2 separate regions of the Homo sapiens genome follow, and region 1 is linked to region 2. The links are contacts of gene promoters, found by promoter capture Hi-C in human tissues and cell types (Jung and others, 2019). All regions are on one chromosome and are shown on one strand. The core of a region is centred on a gene start or on the middle of the fragment in contact, and the rest is flanking DNA. Distances in the headings are between cores, read along the strand shown.

Region 1 (3,904 bases), core at 1,219-3,718, 39 kb before region 2:
ACTAATTGAATAAATGAATAAACCGGGTGACTGGATTCTTCTACTTGTAGCTCCCCAAACGTGCCATGCTCACTCTCATTTCCCGACCTTTGCTTTTGCTGTTCCCTCTGCCTGGAACTATTCACCAGGAGAAGGGAGGGAAGTGACAAAGGGGAGATCACCTGGCAGTGGCCCAGGTTCCTCTCTTGTCCTCGTTTCACTGCTGCCTGCACCGGATACTCACCAGAGAACCAGGGAGCAAGAATCTAGACTCTCCAGGACTCGAGTCACCTGTTACCACCACTTGTTCTGCAACTGGGGAAACTGAGGCCCAGAGAGAGGAAAGAACTCAGCCAAGTTTCCATGCTCAAGGGCAGTGCTCGTCCCTCTCCACTGTACATGTCTCACCCGGAGACTGTTTCCCACGTGCATGCTGTATCTGCTCCCAGCATGGGGCCCAGAGAGAGGCGGTGGGTGAGGGGCTGCGCCCTGCCTGTGGGCCACTGCCCTCCTCCCTGCCCACTGAGGAGCGAGCAGGGTGGCCCGGGCTAGTGAATTCACATGCTCCTGACTTAGACTCACATGAGTCACCATCCTGACACTTTCACTTATTAGCCATGTGACCTTGGGCTCTCTGAGCCTTGGTTCACTACCCTGCAGAAAGAGGAGACAAAACCTAACCCTCTTCCTCCAGCATTGCTGGAAAGATTTGTTTTGTTTTGTTTTGTTTTGTTTCTTGAGACAGTCTCTGTCACCCAGGCTGGAGTCACAGTGAATCTCAGCTCACTGCAACCTCCGTCTCCCGGGTACAAGCAATTCTTATGTCTCAGCCTCCCAAGTAGCTGGGACTACCGGCACCTGAGACCACACCTGGCTGATTTTTGTATTTTTAGTAGAGATGGGGTTTTGCCATGTTGGCCAGGCTGGTCTCCAACTCCTGATCTCAGGTGATCCACTCACCTCGGCCTCCCAAAGTGCCGGGATTACAGGTATGAGCCACCGGCAATCCCAGGAAATGAGCCCCTGGAAATATTTCTATTATAATAAAAGTTCACATGTATCGAGCACTTATCCTCAACTACCCTGCGGGGCAGGTATGAATTTTATCCCCATTTTCCAGATAAGGAAACTGAGGCTCAGAATGGGGAAATAACTCTTCGGAGGTCACACAGCTAGCAGGAAGTAGAGCAGGAATTCCAATCCAGGCAGGCCGACTTCAGAGCTCACATGCTTAGCCATATGAATGCATCAGGCATACAATAGTAGGCGCTCAATGGATATTAGCTACTGGTGGCCCTCTGACCAAGGCCCTAGGAAGAACTTGCTTTCATGTTGGCACCGTTTTCCAGGACAAACTCCATCTTTTGTTTATTTTCTTCCCCTCTAATCCCTGCTTGGAAACACAAGGCCTCTTAGCAGTCCCTCTCTGAGGGATTTTCGGATTATTCCCACCTTGATTAGTTCCAGTTTCTCCTGCAGAAGCAGGAGTTATTTTGGGGCCTTGATGGCTCCCTCTGGCTGCCTGTGACCTCCACCCCGTTGCAGACACCTCTCCCTTCACCTGCACGGCTCATTAGCCGCATTCTGCTGCTCGGCTGCTGCTTTCCGTGCCCGCAGTTCCCCGCCCTACCTCGAGGGCCAGCACCTGCTCCCCTCCTCCCGGACCCCACAGCCACTCCTGCCACCCCACTATTTTGCAGGGATAGAGGCTGTTAACTGTTTCTTTTTTTAATTACCATTTTAATTTTTTATTTTTTGAGACGGAGTCTCGCTCTGTTGCTCAGGCTGGAGTGCAGTGGCGCGATCTCTGCTCACTGCAACTGCCACCCCCCAGGTTCAAGCGATTCTCCTGCCTCAGCCTCCCGAGTAGCTGGGACTATAGGCATGTGCCACCATGCACCGCTAATGTTAATTTTGTCACCTGTGTCCTAATCCTCAGACCCCAACTTTGCCTCAGAGCAATGACCCTCCCTCCAGTTCCAGGATTTTCCCAGACTTGAGCAAAAGCTCACACACCATTTGGATGCAAATGGGTTTGGCTGGTGTTCCCACTCCCTGTTCCTGTGGGAACCCAGTCCTCAATGTCATTCAGCCTGGGGCGGGAGCAGTAAAAACTCCCAAGGATGCATTTTATGTGATGTATATTTTACCACAATTAAAATAAAATTCCCAAGGGGTCACAGGACGCCTCCCCGCCTCTGCCACCATGTTATGTCGCCGTGCGTGGGGCCCACGTCACAGGCGTGGGGCGTGGGTTCTGTGGTAGCTGTCTGTTCTCTCTCTGCTCCTGGCTCTTCTTTCCAGCTCTGCGTTCTGCCTCTGCCAGGGCCGCCTGCAGGCCTTGCTTGCTTTTCAAAAATAACTCTTGAGTCTCTCACTGAGCTTGGGGGCTGCTTCCTGGGTGTCCCGGGCTGTGTGTTAATCCTTCCAATGCAAAACTTCCTGAAGCTTAAGACTCTGGGCTGGGCGAGGGAACTGGTCACCAGTGTCGGGCTGAAGTAGCTCAGATACTGACCTGCTGTTCCAGCACCTATGGTAAGGGCAGGTGGGTCCTTCCCAGTGACAGCAAGTCATTCATTCACTCATTAATTCAGATATTTATCAAGCATCCACTAGTGCCTATTGGCTGCTGAGCACACCCCCAGGTGGCCCCTGTTGGTTTCCCATTTGCTCCTCTTTGAATTTCCATTTCCTTCTCTAAAGTAGGGGTTCTCCTTTTTTTTTTTTTGTTAGCTCACTGCAGCCTCTACCTCCTGGGCTCCATCGATCCTCTTACTTCAGCCTCCAGAGTAGATGAGACTACAGGCAGTTGCCACCACGCCCAACTAATTTTGTTTATGTTTTGTAGAGATGAGGTCTCAAGGCCGGGCGCGGTGGCTCACGCCTGTAATCCCAGCACTTTGGGAGGCCGAGGCGGGCGGATCACTTGAGGTCGGGAGTTTGAGACCAGCCTGACCAACATGGAGAAACCCCGTTGCTACTAAAAAATACAAAATTAGCTGGGCGTGGTGGCGCATGCCTGTAATCCCAGCTACTTGGGAGGCTGAGGCAGGAGAATTGCTTGAACCCAGGAGGCGGAGGTTGCAGTGAGCTGAGATCGCGCCATTGCACTCCAGCCTGGGCAACAAGAACGAAACTCCGTCTCAAAAAAAAAAAAAAAAAAAAAAAGAGATGAGGTCTCGCTCTATTGCCCAGGCTGGTCTCAAACCCCTGGGCTCAAGGGATCCTCCTGCTTCAGCCTCTCAAAAGTGCTGGGATTACAGGCATGAGCCACCACGCCTGGCCAAATAGGGGCTCCTAAATTGGGGTGGCCATCAGTCCCAGTGGGAAACAGATGGCAAGCTCAAACTGGGTGACTTAAGGAAGGCTGACTAAAGGGATCATTTAGATGTGGACAGGGTGTACAGAAATCGCAGGAGACAGTGCAGTGCCGAGACTGGTTACAATGGGAGGGCTGTTACCTCCTTAGGCATGGCAGGAGCAGTTCCCACTAGCCAGAAAGTTATGTGGAGAGGGTCACTTTAAGAGAAGCTGTTGGCCAGATGAGGTGGCTCATGCCTGTAATCTGGGAGGCCGAGGTAGGTGGATCACTCGACATCAGGAGTTCGAGACCAGCCTGGCCAACATGGTGAAACCCTGTCTCTACTGAAAATACAAAATTAGCCAGGCGTGGTGGCACGTGCCTGTAGTCCCAGCTATTCAGGAGGCTGAGGCAGGAGAATCGCTTGAACCTAGGAGGTGGAGGTTGCAATGAGCCAAGGTTGCGCCACTGCCCTCCAGCCTGGGTGACAGAGCAAGACTCTGTCTAAAAAAAAAAAAAAAAAAGAAAGAAAAAAAAAAGAGAAGCTGTGACCTTCTGTTAACCAGCCTGAGGTGCCCTTCAGGAGGAAGCAGTTGCATAAATACCCTGAGTCACTCCACCTTC
Region 2 (4,129 bases), core at 1,394-3,893:
GCTTTATTTCTCCCCATGGCAGAAACACCACCAGTTTGTCACCATTACTTTTCCATGCGTTTATGTATTTGTTTATTTGTTGCTGAGGATAGAGACCATTTTGTTTGCTATCATATCCCTGGTACCTAGAACACTGCCTGGCAGATAACAGGCACTCAATTATTTGTTGAATGAATGGATCAATCTTTGTATCCAAGATGACTACTGCAGTGCCTGGTTGGATACATATTTGTCAAATAAGTGACCAAATTAATACACTTTACAAATGAAATGGAATCCTGGCATACATCCAGGATTATCTGGGATATGAGTGAAGGTGTTTCATCCATTTGCTTCATGGACATAATTTTTATTTATTTACTCTAGTAATCATAGGTAACATAATCAGATTCTTCAGTTTTTCAAAAACTAGTTGGTGACCGAGGTCTTGCCCAAAAATATTTAGGGCATTTCAGAAAGGTTACCAACAGTGGCACAGCAGGGATTTAGAATACCCAGCAGTCCTCTGCCTCTCATTGGCTCCTGAGGGTTTCTGATAAGGTTCTTTATCTCCTGTGATTTATATTGAATGTGCCTTTGTTTTTAATCCTGCCAAACACTGATTATTCTGAGGGCTGGAGCAGGTAAGACATTGACTGACCTCGAACTCAAAGGGTGGACTCATTACACCCTGCATATCCCAGAGGACCCTGCAATGAGCCTTCAGGGCTGCAACGCCCCAGGCTGCTTCAGGATTTGGGCTTTAGGAACCTGAGTGGCTTTGATATGGCAATTCAGTCCCTTAAGGGTAGCTGATCTGGGGAACAATTTGCCACACTTTCCTAGTTTACTTTAGCCTCTGGGCAGTTGCTTTCCCAGCCCATCCATTTTCCTTAATTCCTTGCCTATGGATAAGTAAAAGAGGCACACAGGGCCCAGCGCGGTGGCTCACGCCTGTAATCCCAGCATTTTGGGAGGCCAAGGCGGGCAGATCATGAGGTCAGGAGATCGAGACCATCCTGGCTAACATGGTGAGACCCCATCTCTACTAAAAATACAAAAAATTAGCTGGGTGTGGTGGCGGGTGCCTGTAATCCCAGCTACTCGGGAGGCTGAGGCAGGAGAATCGCTTGAACCTGGGGGGCAGAGGTTGCAGTGAGCCGAGATCGTGCCACTGCACTCCAGCCTGGTGACAGAGCAACACTCTGTAAAGAAGCAGACAGTGCAGAGAAGGATGAACTCTTGGCATGAGTGAAGTGTAATATCGGCAATCTGTTTGTGTACCCTTCTTTTTTTTTTTTTTTTTTTTTTTTTTTGAGACAGGGTCTCACTCTGTTGCCCAGGCTGGAGTGTAGTGACCCAATCTCGGCTCACTGCAACTTTCACTTCCCGGGTTCAAGTTATTCTCATGCCTACAAGTGGCTGGGATTACAGGCGCCCACCACCACGCCTGGCTAATTTTTGTATTTTTAGTAGAGACAGGGTTTCACCATGTTGGCCAGGCTGGTCTCGAACTCCTGACCTCAAGTGATCCGCCGGTCTTGGCCTCCCAAAGTGCTGGGATTACAGGTGCGAGCCACTGTGCCCGGCCTCGTGTATCCTTTTAATGAGGCCGAGCGGTGACAAGACTGTGGATGGCATTGGGGCCAGGGACCAGAACAGGGAGAGCCTGGGAGGAACCCCTCCAGCCCCCCGCAAAGCTCAAGCACCGGATACTAAAGAAGAATGGTAGATGGGGCCTCACGATGTGCAGGGGGAAGGGAACTGGCTTAACTGGATGGTCCCCTGTCCGAGCACTGGGCTAGGCCTTTTGTGTGCATAGTATCGTCTGCTGTTACCAAGAAATTAGTTATGCTTATCATCTGCATTTTACAGAAGAGGAGAACAAGGCTCAGAGAGGTTGATGACACCTGCCCAAGTTACCCAGATGGTAGGTGGCAGAGCTGGGATTTGAGATTCAGATAAGGCCTGGGACGCTCCCTGGCTGCCCACCGAGAGCAGGAATTTCTGTAGCATCTAGAAAGGCAGGAAGGTGAAAGAGGGGACAAGAGCTGGAGGGGGAGCAAATGGGTCCTACCTGAGACTTACCATCATCAGGTGCTGCCAGACCTGGCTTCTCTTCTATTCTGAGAACTGATATCCTGTGGCTGACTTACCAGGGTCGTCCTAGTCCCCCCGCACGGTATTGGGAGTGGAGGCAGCCCCACACGGAGGCGCTGGGAGACTTTCCTCCCAGCAGTGTCCTGTCACTGCATTCCGGCCCCTGCGTTTGTAGGCAGTGATGTCACAGAGTGCCTTCATGCTCCTCGGGTCTCCGGTTCTCCCCGGACCTCTGTAGTCCTCATTGCCAAAGTTGTACCCCCTGGGGAGTGCACCCTGCCTGCATTTCTGGAGGTTCGGGCGGTTCCGGGGCTCTGCAGGAGCCTCCAGGCGTGATAAAGAGCGCTGCCGGCACTCCCGGGGTCTCGGCCTCTTTGGGGCCCATTGCCAAGCCCCTTCCCTCCTCGTGCTCCCGCTCCGCGTTGCAGCGTCCCCTTCGCCGCCAGGGGCCGCCCGGAAGCGGGGCTCCCCCAGGGCGGGGCGGGGCAAGGGGCGGGGCGCGGCGGTACCTGGGCCGCCAGGGAGCCGGGGGTGGGCTCTCCGGGGACAGCCGGCAGCGCCCCCAGATCTGCACCGCCAGCCGCCGGGAGCTCCGGGCTCCGGGCGTAGAGGCTGCGCTGTCACATGGGCGGCGGCGACGGGGCCGCATTTAAGCGGCCGGGGGACGGCGCCCGCCTCCAGCGCGTCCTCGGGCTTGGCTCCCGCCGGGAGCCCCGTTCTCTGCCCGCCGGGGGCCCCGCGCCGCGCCGCACCGCGCCGCCCCCGCCGGGCCATGCGAGCGCGGGCCCCGCCGCGATGAGCTCGCACATCGCCAAAAGCGAGTCCAAGACGTCGCTGCTGAAGGCGGCGGCGGCGGCGGCGAGCGGGGGCAGCCGGGCTCCCCGCCACGGCCCTGCCCGGGACCCGGGGCTGCCTAGCCGCCGGCTACCCGGCTCCTGCCCGGCGACGCCGCAGTCGTCCGGGGACCCCAGTTCGCGGAGGCCCCTGTGCCGGCCGGCGCCGCGAGAGGAGGGCGCGCGGGGGAGCCAGCGTGTGCTCCCCCAGGCGCACTGCAGGCCCCGGGAGGCGCTGCCGGCCGCGGCGTCCCGACCTTCGCCGTCGTCGCCGCTGCCGCCGGCCCGCGGGCGGGATGGGGAGGAACGGGGACTGTCCCCGGCGCTCGGCCTCCGGGGCTCTCTGCGAGCCCGGGGCCGCGGGGACTCCGTTCCAGCCGCCGCGTCCGAGGCGGACCCGTTCCTCCACCGGCTGCGCCCCATGCTCAGCTCCGCCTTTGGCCAGGTAAGGGCCGCGCCTCCCGTCAGCGCTCCCGGGAAAGGCGCTCGGGACCCTGCCGGCCGCGGTTGCGCGTCCACAGCCTCCTCCCGCGGCCCGTGGTCCCCCACGGATCACGCCTCGGCTCACCTCGTCCTCCCCGGGCCGGCGCCCTTGCCGGCACTCCTCCTCCCCGTGCCTGATTCAGCACCCCGTGCGCTGTCCACGCTCCGGGCCTCTTGGGGCAAGGCCCTCCCCGCTAGCCTCCCTCATACCCGCCAGAACCCGCCAGTCCTGGAAGAGAGCGACCTCTACGACCGTCCTGGAGATTTGCGGGGGTCAAGGAGGGGCGCTCCGAGCAGGTGGCGCCAAACCCACTCCTCTGGCCTCTGGCCAGTACCGCCAGGGAGGGACTCAGGAGAGCAAGCGGTTTGGAGTCTGGGGGTCAAGAGAGGGGACCTCAGAGAACACAGAATTACTTGAGGGCGAGGGACACTGGCCACTGCCTATCATGTCCCTGAAGGCCTGAGAAAAGTTAGGAGATCCAAAAATATGAGGAAAGAGAAGAGGTGTCTGGGTAGGCATGGAGGGGCATGCAGAGCTGTGGCTCAAACTGGAACTTTGGGGTGGTTTAAGGAGGCTGTCACTCTAGGGATGCCATTGGAAGGGTGAGAAAGGCCACAAAGAGGTCATCAGTGGTTCCCTCAGGCCTTTCCCTCAAGAGTCCCAGGCACCTGGGAGCCTGCCCTTTAAAAGCAGCTCCGTAGTCACAATATAGGTCTACAGTTTGAGGCTGTGC

The links. The method cuts DNA at HindIII sites, captures the fragments that hold promoters and counts their contacts. A contact is called where the count stands out against the background at its distance.
Region 1: a contact is called between a fragment that was not itself captured here and the fragment with the promoter of CABP1 in region 2, in 1 of the 25 tissues and cell types used here (heart right ventricle).

What each region holds. Positions count from the first base shown.
Region 1 is chr12:120,598,767-120,602,670 of GRCh38, forward strand. No RefSeq gene overlaps it. Among named protein-coding and RNA genes, the nearest start is that of POP5, 19 kb to the left of the region's middle. The HindIII fragment of the contact is 9,311 bases long and covers 1-3,904 here.
Region 2 is chr12:120,637,983-120,642,111 of GRCh38, forward strand. CABP1 (calcium binding protein 1) reads left to right here and starts at 2,644. Exons shown (of 6, transcript NM_001033677.2): 1 at 2,644-3,357. The coding sequence starts at 2,704. CABP1-DT (CABP1 divergent transcript) reads right to left here and starts at 2,540. Exons shown (of 2, transcript NR_183426.1): 1 at 2,068-2,540. RefSeq lists an enhancer at 531-1,032 and silencers at 2,504-2,803, 3,024-3,123, 3,134-3,303, 3,524-3,623. The HindIII fragment of the contact is 37,846 bases long and covers 1-4,129 here.